Linked DNA regions of Homo sapiens: region 2 is linked to region 1. The links are contacts of gene promoters, found by promoter capture Hi-C in blood cells and fetal thymus (Javierre and others, 2016). All regions are on one chromosome and are shown on one strand. Each heading gives the region's core, a stretch centred on a gene start or on the middle of the fragment in contact. The rest is flanking DNA. Distances are from core to core; before and after follow the strand shown. Region 1 holds the start of CFAP43 (cilia and flagella associated protein 43). Region 2 overlaps STN1 (STN1 subunit of CST complex).

Region 1 (4,673 bases), core at 740-3,239:
AACCTTTAGTTTTTTTTTTTACTTAAAGCAATCCTTTAACACTTAAATGTAGGCAGAGAAAAATCCACATTCCCATTACTTCTTATAATCTTTCACCAAAAACACATTTTACTTTCTTTACACACCTTGCATGTAAAACTGTTTCTTTAGTAGTTTTAATTACATGTTATAATGTTAACTTTTTGCAACTTTTATTTTTGGTGAAAACCTTGGTAAGTAAGAGATTTTAATTGTGTACTAGGTGTGGAGCCTAGCCTAGGACACAACAGGCAGAAGTGCAGATAACAGCTGACTCTCTAGCATAGCTAGAGGGCATAGCTAACTCCACATGTCCACAGGGCTCACCCTTACTTAAGCAGGCAAGTTGTACAGTAAGAGTCATAGGGCATTGTATGAAGCATTTAGGAGGCCTAACAATCCGTGAATTGTACAACATTTCTTGCATAAAATCACTTTCATAAATCCTTTCACAACTTACACAGACCATCTGAGACCATGTGGATATCTAGCCCAACTCCCTGGATCCCACCAGTCTCTAAGTTCCAAGAAGGAAGAAACTTTATTTGTTTTTCTATTTTTTCCAAGTGACTAGCACATGCATGAATGCATGCGGGATGCTCTGTAAATATTTGTGAAAGAAATGGAGAGAAGAAAGCAAGACAGGAAGGAAAGACCTAAAGAAAGGAAGGGAAGGGTAGAGAAGGGAAGACGACTGAAGGGAAAGGAAGAAGGGTAAGGGAGGGAGTCTAAGGGAAGGTATGGGAGAGAAGAAGGAATGACAAGCTGCCGACCATTCAATCAGGTTACTTCCAGAGCTGTCTGCTTCCCTGAGGAAGCAAGAGGGTACATTTCAAAGTGTTATATGGTACTTAAGGGCTTGGAGCTCTAAATTAGCTAGACCTGCGTTTAAGTCCCACTCAGGGCTGGGCAAGGTGGCTCACGCCTGTAATCGCAGCACTCTGGGAGGCCAAGGCGGGCGAATCACTTGAGGTCAAGAATTTGAAACCAGCCTGGTCATCATGGTGAAAACCCGTCTCTACTAAAAATACAAAAAATTAGCTGGGCATGGTAGCACGTGCCTGTAATCTCAGCTACTTGGGAGGCTGAGGCAGGAGAATCGCTTGAACCCAGGAGATGGAGGTTGCAGTGAGCCAAGATCAAGCCACTGCCCTCCAGCCTGGGCAACGGAGTGAGACCCTATCTCAAAAATAAATAAATAAATAATATAAATAAATAAAGTCCCACTCAACTTTGTAGCCATGGACAAATTATGTGCTTCTCTTTTCCTCACGTTACTTATCTGTAAAATGGGGCTGATGGGAGATGTGAAGACGTTGCAACAATGTTTGGCACAGTCAGCACTCTAAATGAAAGTCTGTTTAGAAATTTATTGATTTTTAAAAATAATTATTTATTTAGAGACAGGTCTCGCTCTGTCGCCCAGGCTGGAGTGCTGTGGCGTCATCCCAGCTCACCGCAGCCTTGAACTCCTGGGCTCAAGCGATCCTCCCACTTCAGTCTCCCAAGTAGCTGGGACTACAGGCGTGCACCACCATGCCCGGCTGCTTTTTAAATTTTTTTGTAGAGATGCGGCACGGGCGCGGCAGGTTTCGCTATGTCTTCCAGGCTGGTCTTCAACTCCTAGCCTCAAGCGATCCTCCCGCTCTGACCTTCGAAAGCGCGGAGATTGTAGGCATGAGTCTTACTTGCAATTATTGGCCCGGACCTGGGGAAATTTGTTAAAATGCAGATTCTGATTGAGTAGATCTGGTGTGGGAGCCAAGTTTCTGCATTTATAACAAGCTTCCCAGGTAGCACCAATGTTGCTGGTAAACAGACCACACTTTGAACAGCAAGGGGCCCGCCCCTCGCTTGGCTTGCCGCTCACCCATTGGCCGAGAGCGGCAGACCTTCCACCAATCTGCTCGGCTCAGAAGGGAGCGGGCCAAAGCGCAGAGCCAATGGGCGCGGGGCTTACGGTCTCCGGGATACGGGTGTACACAGCAGCGGCGTCGCGGCCCGCAGCCCCGCGGCGGCGGAAAGGTAACCGACCCGCCCTGGGGTGCTGCGTGCGCTGCCTGCTCCCGCCTGAGGAAAACACTGCCCATGGCGCAAGGCCGGGAGCGCGACGAAGGCCCCCACTCCGCCGGCGGCGCGTCCTTGTCCGTGAGGTGCGGTGTTCACGGCCCCGCGACCGATCTGGGTCTCGCGGAACCTCCTGCCCCAAGTCCCCTCCTCCCTCCTCTCCCTCCGGTTCCTTAGGGCGGCTTTCCCCGCAGCTTCGACCTCTTCCCCTCTGCCCCCAGTGCCTTCCCTCAGCCTCCCTCCCCGTGTGACCTCCCCTGTCCGCTCCCCATCCCCTTGTTCCTTGACCCCGTCCCCAGTTGTCTTTCCCACTCCTTATTCTGCGACCCTGACCCTCCGTCTCTTACCCAGCAACGTCCCCTGCACCCTTCATCTCTTCCTTCTAGCTCAGGATTCCCGCTAGTGATCCGGGTCTTCTGATCACATCCCCCTCCCCCTCCACCTGGCGACAGCCCGGATCCCGTCCTTGCTACCTTTGGTGATTTTCCCCAAAGTTAGGTCCCTGAATCCTTTCCTTCTAACTCCTATCCACTAGCTTTGGATTTATTTGCATTTATAGTAGCCTTTGAAAAGCATCAAGCACTGCGCAGATATAGGTGGCATTTTTTCCCCTACATTCTAGAGTGTTCCTCCCAGCCCCCACCTCCACTCTATACAGCATCCCCTGCTAGTCCTGGACACTCTAATGTCTCGAGGTTTCTCACCAAACCAGTGTCCTTCACTTGCCTTTTCCACCATCTTCAAGCATACCTTTAATATTTAAATAAAAATAGAATCTCCTTCATCTCCTCTCCTTTCTAGCATACACCTAGCACGCACTCCTTACTTGAGAGTATGTTCTTTTTGTGTGCTAGCCTTTCATTCACGTCGACTTCATTCCTTTTATTTTCTACGTTTATCTGTATTTTTAAATCTAAAATATGGCCACATACTCTTCATCTGTGTAAATAAGCAATTTTCCTACTCTGCTAACAACCACAAAGCAGGCTGTCCTATGCAAAGTTGTTTTTTAAAGTTTATTTAAAAAAATCAAACTAATTATAAAAGAATGGCCCAGGATGCCACTGTGTTGAGATCAAGCTCTTTTCTCTGTTATTTTCACTTTTTGTCTTCCAAGTATAGAAGACCCCAGAAGTCCTTCTGAGACTTTCTCAGGTTTGGTCAGAGAGTTTCCTTTGCTGAAAAAGTTATCTGAAGAAGGCCTGGGAGACCTACGGAACTTTAGGTCTACATTTAAATTTCTATAATTCATTGACTCAAATGGATCTCACAGCCAGCATGTGTGTTCTTTTATCTTAGAAATTGGGGGCAGAAAGGACATGAAAATAGAAATGTTTCAAAGATTTTGATGACCCTTTGCTTTGTTAAAAAAAAAAAAGTATTTGAAATGTATTATATTGATGTTGACATATCTTTTCCCAAAGATGGGTGCAAGGATTCCCTAAGCAGAATGTTCATTTTGTCAACGACAACACCATTTGCTACCCTTGTGGGAATTATGTAATATTTATTAATATTGAAACCAAGAAAAAGACTGTACTGCAGTGTAGTAATGGAATTGTGGGCGTCATGGCAACTAACATCCCCTGTGAAGTTGTGGCTTTTTCTGACCGGAAGCTAAAACCTCTCATCTACGTATACAGCTTTCCAGGATTGACCAGAAGGACCAAATTGAAAGGTATTCTAGAGAACCCTTCCTCTGCCCATAATTGAAGGATTTTGTTTAAAGAGTTGACTAAATCTATTATAAGTGAAGATTTATTTTTTGAAAGGTTTTTTTTGTTTGTTTTTTGTGTTTGTTTTGAGATGGAGTTTTGCCCTGTTGCCTAGGCTGGAGTGCAGTGGTGCGATCTTGGCTCACTGCAATCTCTGCCTCCCAGGTTCAAGTGATTCTCCTGCCTCAGCCTCCTGAGTAGCTGGGATTACAGGTGCGCACCACCACGCCCAGCTAATTTTTGTATTTTTAGTAGAGATGGGGTTTCACCATGTTGGTCAGGCTGTTCTCCAACTCCTGACCTAGTGATCCGCCTGCCTCACCCTCCCAAAGTGCTGAGATTACAGGCATGAGCCACCACGCCTGGCCCCATTTTTTTTTTTAATATACATTTTTAAAGAAGGAATCAAGCTGATCACTGAGGATTTAAATTATGTTAGCTAGAGCCTTGCTGTTCAAAGTGTGGTCTGTTTACCAGCAACATTGGTGCTACCTGGGAAGCTTGTTATAAATGCAGAAACTTGGCTCCCACATCAGAGCTACTCAATCAGAATCTGCATTTTAACAAAATTCCCAGGTGATTCATATGCACATTAAACTTTGAGAAGCACTGGGCTAGAAGACTATTGCCTTTTTCAGAGCAATGACTTTTTTTTCTTTCCTAATATTTGTTGAAAATCCAGGTGAATTGATGTTTGTATAGCTTCTAAAGTCAAGTCTCTGAGCCTCAATTTCCTCATTCATGAAATAGGGATAAAGATGGTGTCTAATGTGAAGGCTGCGGTGATGATGATAGATGAAAATATATAATATGCTGTATGTGTATGTATGCCAAGTGCTCAATGTTGCCTACCATTTGAATTATTAGTGTTTA
Region 2 (4,673 bases), core at 1,369-3,868, 340 kb after region 1:
CTGGACCTGCCCCTTCTTCCTCCTTACCTAATCTTTTTTTTTTCGGAGACAGAGTCTCACTCTGTCGCCCAGGCTGGTGCTTCTCCTGCCTTGGCCTCACAAGTAACTGGGACCACAGGCATGTGCCATCACGCCTGGCTAACCAAGATAACTTTTTCTAAGAGGAATAAAAAATTAAAGAATAAAAAATTACTTAAGTGTTCCTTGAAATTTTACTTACAAATGAGTCTGAATACAACTCGGTCTTTATTTAAACTCCTAAAACACAATGGGTTAATCTTATTCTGAAAAAGACAGAGCAAGTCATTAAAAACCATGGTTCAAGTTCGCGAATCATTTTGCTGATGAATAAATCATCTTGGATGGATAATTACCTCCTCTCATCTACTTCCCTGTCACTTGGCTTCTGCTGAGATTAAACATCCATCTCAATGAATACTAACAACCTACTACTATGGACCTTAGACTATTATTATTTTTTTCTACTCAAATATTAAGCATAATAAGATTAAGTAACGAGGGGCCAGGCGCAGTGGCTCACGCCTGTAATCCCAGCATTTTGGGAGGTCAAGGTGGGCAGATCACTTGAGGCCAGGAGTTCAAGACCAGCCTAGCCAAAATGGTGAAATCTTGTCTCTACTAAAAATACAAAAATTAGACAGGGTCTCACTCTGGGTGACCCTGACCCCTGACTGTCACCCGGAGTGAGACCTTGTCCCAACAAAAAAAAAAGAAAAAGTTATCTCCATGTTTTTACCCCTAGTTTTATTTGGGTAACTTGTTTTGTTGCTTGGTGTTGACGTATTGCTTGGAATTAAGAATTATTTGAGACATTGATTTTAGGCTTTCCCTTTCATTGCAGTTCTTAGGTTTGTTGTTGTTGTAACGTGACTCATTTATTTACTTTCTTTATCCCACCAGGGAATGATCTCAGCTTAAATGTCCCTCCTTGCCCTCCCTGGCCGTCTAGCTGCTCTGATTGCCACGTGGCCCCTCACCCTTACACCCTGTTTTTGTATCTGACGTCACTGGTCTTTATTTGTTTGCTTGCCTATTCCTCCATCAGAATTTAAGTTCTGTGAGAGCAGAGGACTTGTCTGTCTTATTCTTTGCTCTCTACCCAGGGCCTAGAACGGGGCTGGCATAAAGCAGGTTCTCACTCATTATTTGCTGATTGAAGGAATGAATGATTTTTAAAAATTCAAATTGTCCCACAAAGTGTAAAGGTAAAGGTCAGTTTCTTTCCCATCCTCCCTCTCACTCCCTTTCCCCTGAGACAAGCACCAGTACTAGTGTCTGGAATATCATTCTGGAGATAGTCTGTGCTTGTGTGTACTCTAAGTCACTGTAGCCCCTTCTGTTTCACACAGATGGTAGCATGGCGTAGTATACTATGAGACACCACACTTTTCATTGACGTATGTCTCACAGATTCTTTCCTAGCCGTACATATAGGTTGGCCCCTACAGTCTTTGTCACATGTACCATCATGTATATGACCAGTCTGTCCATTCCTGGACTGTTTAGATGTTTTCTGATCTCTTGCCATCACCAACAAGGCTGCTGTGAACACCCTTGCTAGGTAACATAAGTTCTTGATTTTGGTGGAACAGATACTGAGTCACATCCTGACTTCCTGGGCATGACCACTGCTTCTCAGTTTTGTTTGTGCTCCTAATTATCTCTTCTGGGCAACAGCCTGATGTGCCCAGTGACCCATGGTTTCATACGAGGAGATGAGGGATATCGTTTCAGAAAACACCAAAGTGGAAAGGGTCACGACTGGCTGCTTTGTTCTTTGCCAAGGTTGCTTCTAAACAGTTGCAGCGCTCCAGCTGTCGGCTGACAGCAAGATTGACCTTCTTCCCACTTAATCATTTAGAGGCGGCTCAAAGCCAAATTGACCTCCTAGGACTTCTGATGATTCTATCAGCATGTTTGGATAGAAACTTTAAAGCTTAGCGAAGACCATATTTTTCACATGAAGCCAGCTCTTCCGTGATAGCTATAATTAAGTAGAGAGAGAGACTTAAGGACTCTTTGAGGACTAAAAGACTCCTCCATTCAAAATGATCTGTGGGGAACCTTTGGCATATCTTTTTGAAAATGCTTACAGCAGAAACTTGTGTCTGCCTGGTGCTATATGTTTAAAAAGAATCGAATATGGCACTATATTTGTTTTGTCTTTGGAAACTCTTTTTTCTATCAATTATGAATTAGTCCCTCACATTGCTCTGGTTGGGGAGGTCAGTGTGATTAAACTGAGTTCTGTTTAATAGATTCCTGGGAGACTAAAGGTGCTTTACAATGAGACTGAAACCCTAGATCCTTTGGCACTTTCTGTTGTCATACAGATGAAAGCTTAACAGAAAAAATCATTGTGATGGTGTTATAGTTTAGAGGCAGAGAGAGAGCAGGCTTGAATGTTTCCTCCTTTTTTTCATAGTGGTCCTTCTTAGCAAATCCAGAAACATGATAAGCAGGGCCTGCAAAACCATTGTTTCTTTGACAGCTGGATGAATGTTGAGTTTGTTTGGGAATGAAGACTATATATATTTCAGGGATCCACCCAGTTCCTGACCTGAGATGAGGCGAGGCTTGGTAAAGCTCAGCACGTTTAGCTAGTGACTGTTTTTTTTTGTTTGTTTGGTTTTTTTTTTTTTTTGCCTGTGAGCAATTTCGGTTTCCTAAATCTGATGAGTCTGTCATTGCTTTTTTGAAAAAGACAAGAAAGACACAGATCCCAGTCCAGGAAAAGCTGCTGGCTGGAAGAGACGATTAGTGGCTTTACCCTTGAGACTATGGTCTTTATAACTAGGCCAGGGAAATATGTCCCAGGGTCAGCTGAGGCAAATGTTTTTGGAAAGGAAGCTTCAAGTATTGTTTATATTTACAGAGAGCCATTTCTGTTGAGTCCTTGCTCACAGCTGAAACTGTGTTTTTAATCTCCTAGGCCTAGCATTGTCTCTTCCTGCTGCTTGATCTGACTGAAATCTGGGAGGGGGAACTAGGCTTTTTATATGGTTTGGGGATAACCAAGAGTCATTTTTAAAGACAGGAATAATCATGTAATACTCATCTCTAGTTAGTTTCCAATTTATTTCTATCTTGCTAAGAGATGTAATAAACCTAACCTTTAGGATCCTTATGTTAAATTGACTAAAGAAGATAGATCTCCTTAGAATTATAAAGATTAAGTAGTTATGAAGGTTTGCAAAGGAGTCTATGTTGCACTGATGGTGCATCCCCTAAGAGCACTCATGTATGAAATTAAAAACAGTTTTGCCCTAAGCCTCGTGAATAAAAAGATGTGTGGCTGAGGATTGCTAGGTGTGGTGTTTATTCTAAACACACCCAGAGAGGTTTTCTGCCTGTGGGAGTTGTCAAATATTTCTCAGCCTTATTCTCCCTTCTGAATGGAAGCTGTCATAACCTGGAATGTTTGTCGGTTTGGGGGCTCTAATGACAAGGTTCTCCAGCTTGTTCTTTTAAGGAAAAACTTAGACTGATAATTCAATTAGTGTGTTAGGCTGTTATTGTTAGCCCAGGAGAACACATTTGTGAAACATCACCAGGATCTATTAGAGTAACAGAAAGCCTGTTTGGGAGGTCTCTTCTAGAAAGAGAAGGTTACTTTGGGACGGACTTGTGAACACTTGAGACCCTGTGGAGGCTCTTTCCTCTCCCCTTGAGGAAATGTCATTAGCAAATCTCAGCCACTCTTTTTCAGCACCTCTGGGTGCTGCCCCACATAGGCTTTGTAAGTACCTTTCAATAGAGGTAGGACTTGGCCTTCAAATGCTTTTCTGGAAGCTTTGCCACATTTGTTTGGAACTCTGATCTTTTCAATATCTTGACAAATTTCTGTCACATTGAAAATGGATCTGTAGGCTGGGCACGGTGGCTCACACCTGTAATCCCAGCACTTTGAGAGGCCGAGGCGGGTGGATCACGAGGTCGGGAGATCGAGACCATCCTGGCTAACATGGTGAAACCCTGTCTCTACTAAAAATACAAAAAATTAGCTGGGCATGGTGGCAGGCGCCTGTAGTCCCAGCTACTCGGGAGGCTGAGGCAGGAGAATGGCATGAATCCAGGAGGTGGAGCTTGCAGTGAGCTGAGATCGCGCCACTGCACTCCAGCCTGGGCGACAGAGACTCTGTCTCAAAAAAAAAAAGGATCTGTACTTTGAAGAGCAATTGTTGTTCGCCCTTTTCTTTGTTTTAGGAAGGAGTGGAAAATCCCCAATGGAATAATAAGAAGAATACACACACTCTAATGTGTATTTGTTTCCATTCATCTCACAGATACTTTATCAGTCACCTAACGTGTGCTAGGGAGGAGGTGGCCAAGATGAAACAAAGTCCCTGACTCAAGAAGCATCCCATCTGGTCAAGCATGGGGGGACATAGCTGATAGCCTAGCTTCCTCGGGGATAAGAAGCAGGATGACCTGGATGACCCTCCCCAGGCAAACGTGTCTCCAGAGAAGTGAAGAGACACTGAAAGTGAGGGGGAGAGCTGACAGCAGCAGAGGTCCCTTCTAGGTGGGGACTGTGCTTCACCAGGACTGCTGTCTACCTTCAGCCTTGTGGACTCCCCTTGGTGGATCTCTGCACAGCCTCTGTTGTCCTCCATTTAAAATAATGAGGCTATTTAATACTTCATGCTGGA

The links. Contacts are between HindIII fragments. The CHiCAGO score rates a contact against its expected background, and 5 or more counts as called.
Region 2: a contact is called between a fragment that was not itself captured here and the fragment with the promoter of CFAP43 in region 1, in 2 of 17 cell types (activated CD4 T cells and fetal thymus). The highest score is 6.1, in activated CD4 T cells.

The regions. Positions count from the first base shown.
Region 1 is chr10:104,229,680-104,234,352 of GRCh38, reverse strand. It overlaps CFAP43 (cilia and flagella associated protein 43), which reads left to right and starts at 1,989. Exons shown (of 38, transcript NM_025145.7): 1 at 1,989-2,171; 2 at 3,510-3,763. The coding sequence starts at 2,107. RefSeq lists an enhancer at 1,868-2,162. The HindIII fragment of the contact is 2,497 bases long and covers 1,806-4,302 here.
Region 2 is chr10:103,892,684-103,897,356 of GRCh38, reverse strand. All of the region lies in intron 7 of STN1 (STN1 subunit of CST complex), which reads left to right. Among named protein-coding and RNA genes, the nearest start is that of STN1, 23 kb to the left of the region's middle. The HindIII fragment of the contact is 510 bases long and covers 2,364-2,873 here.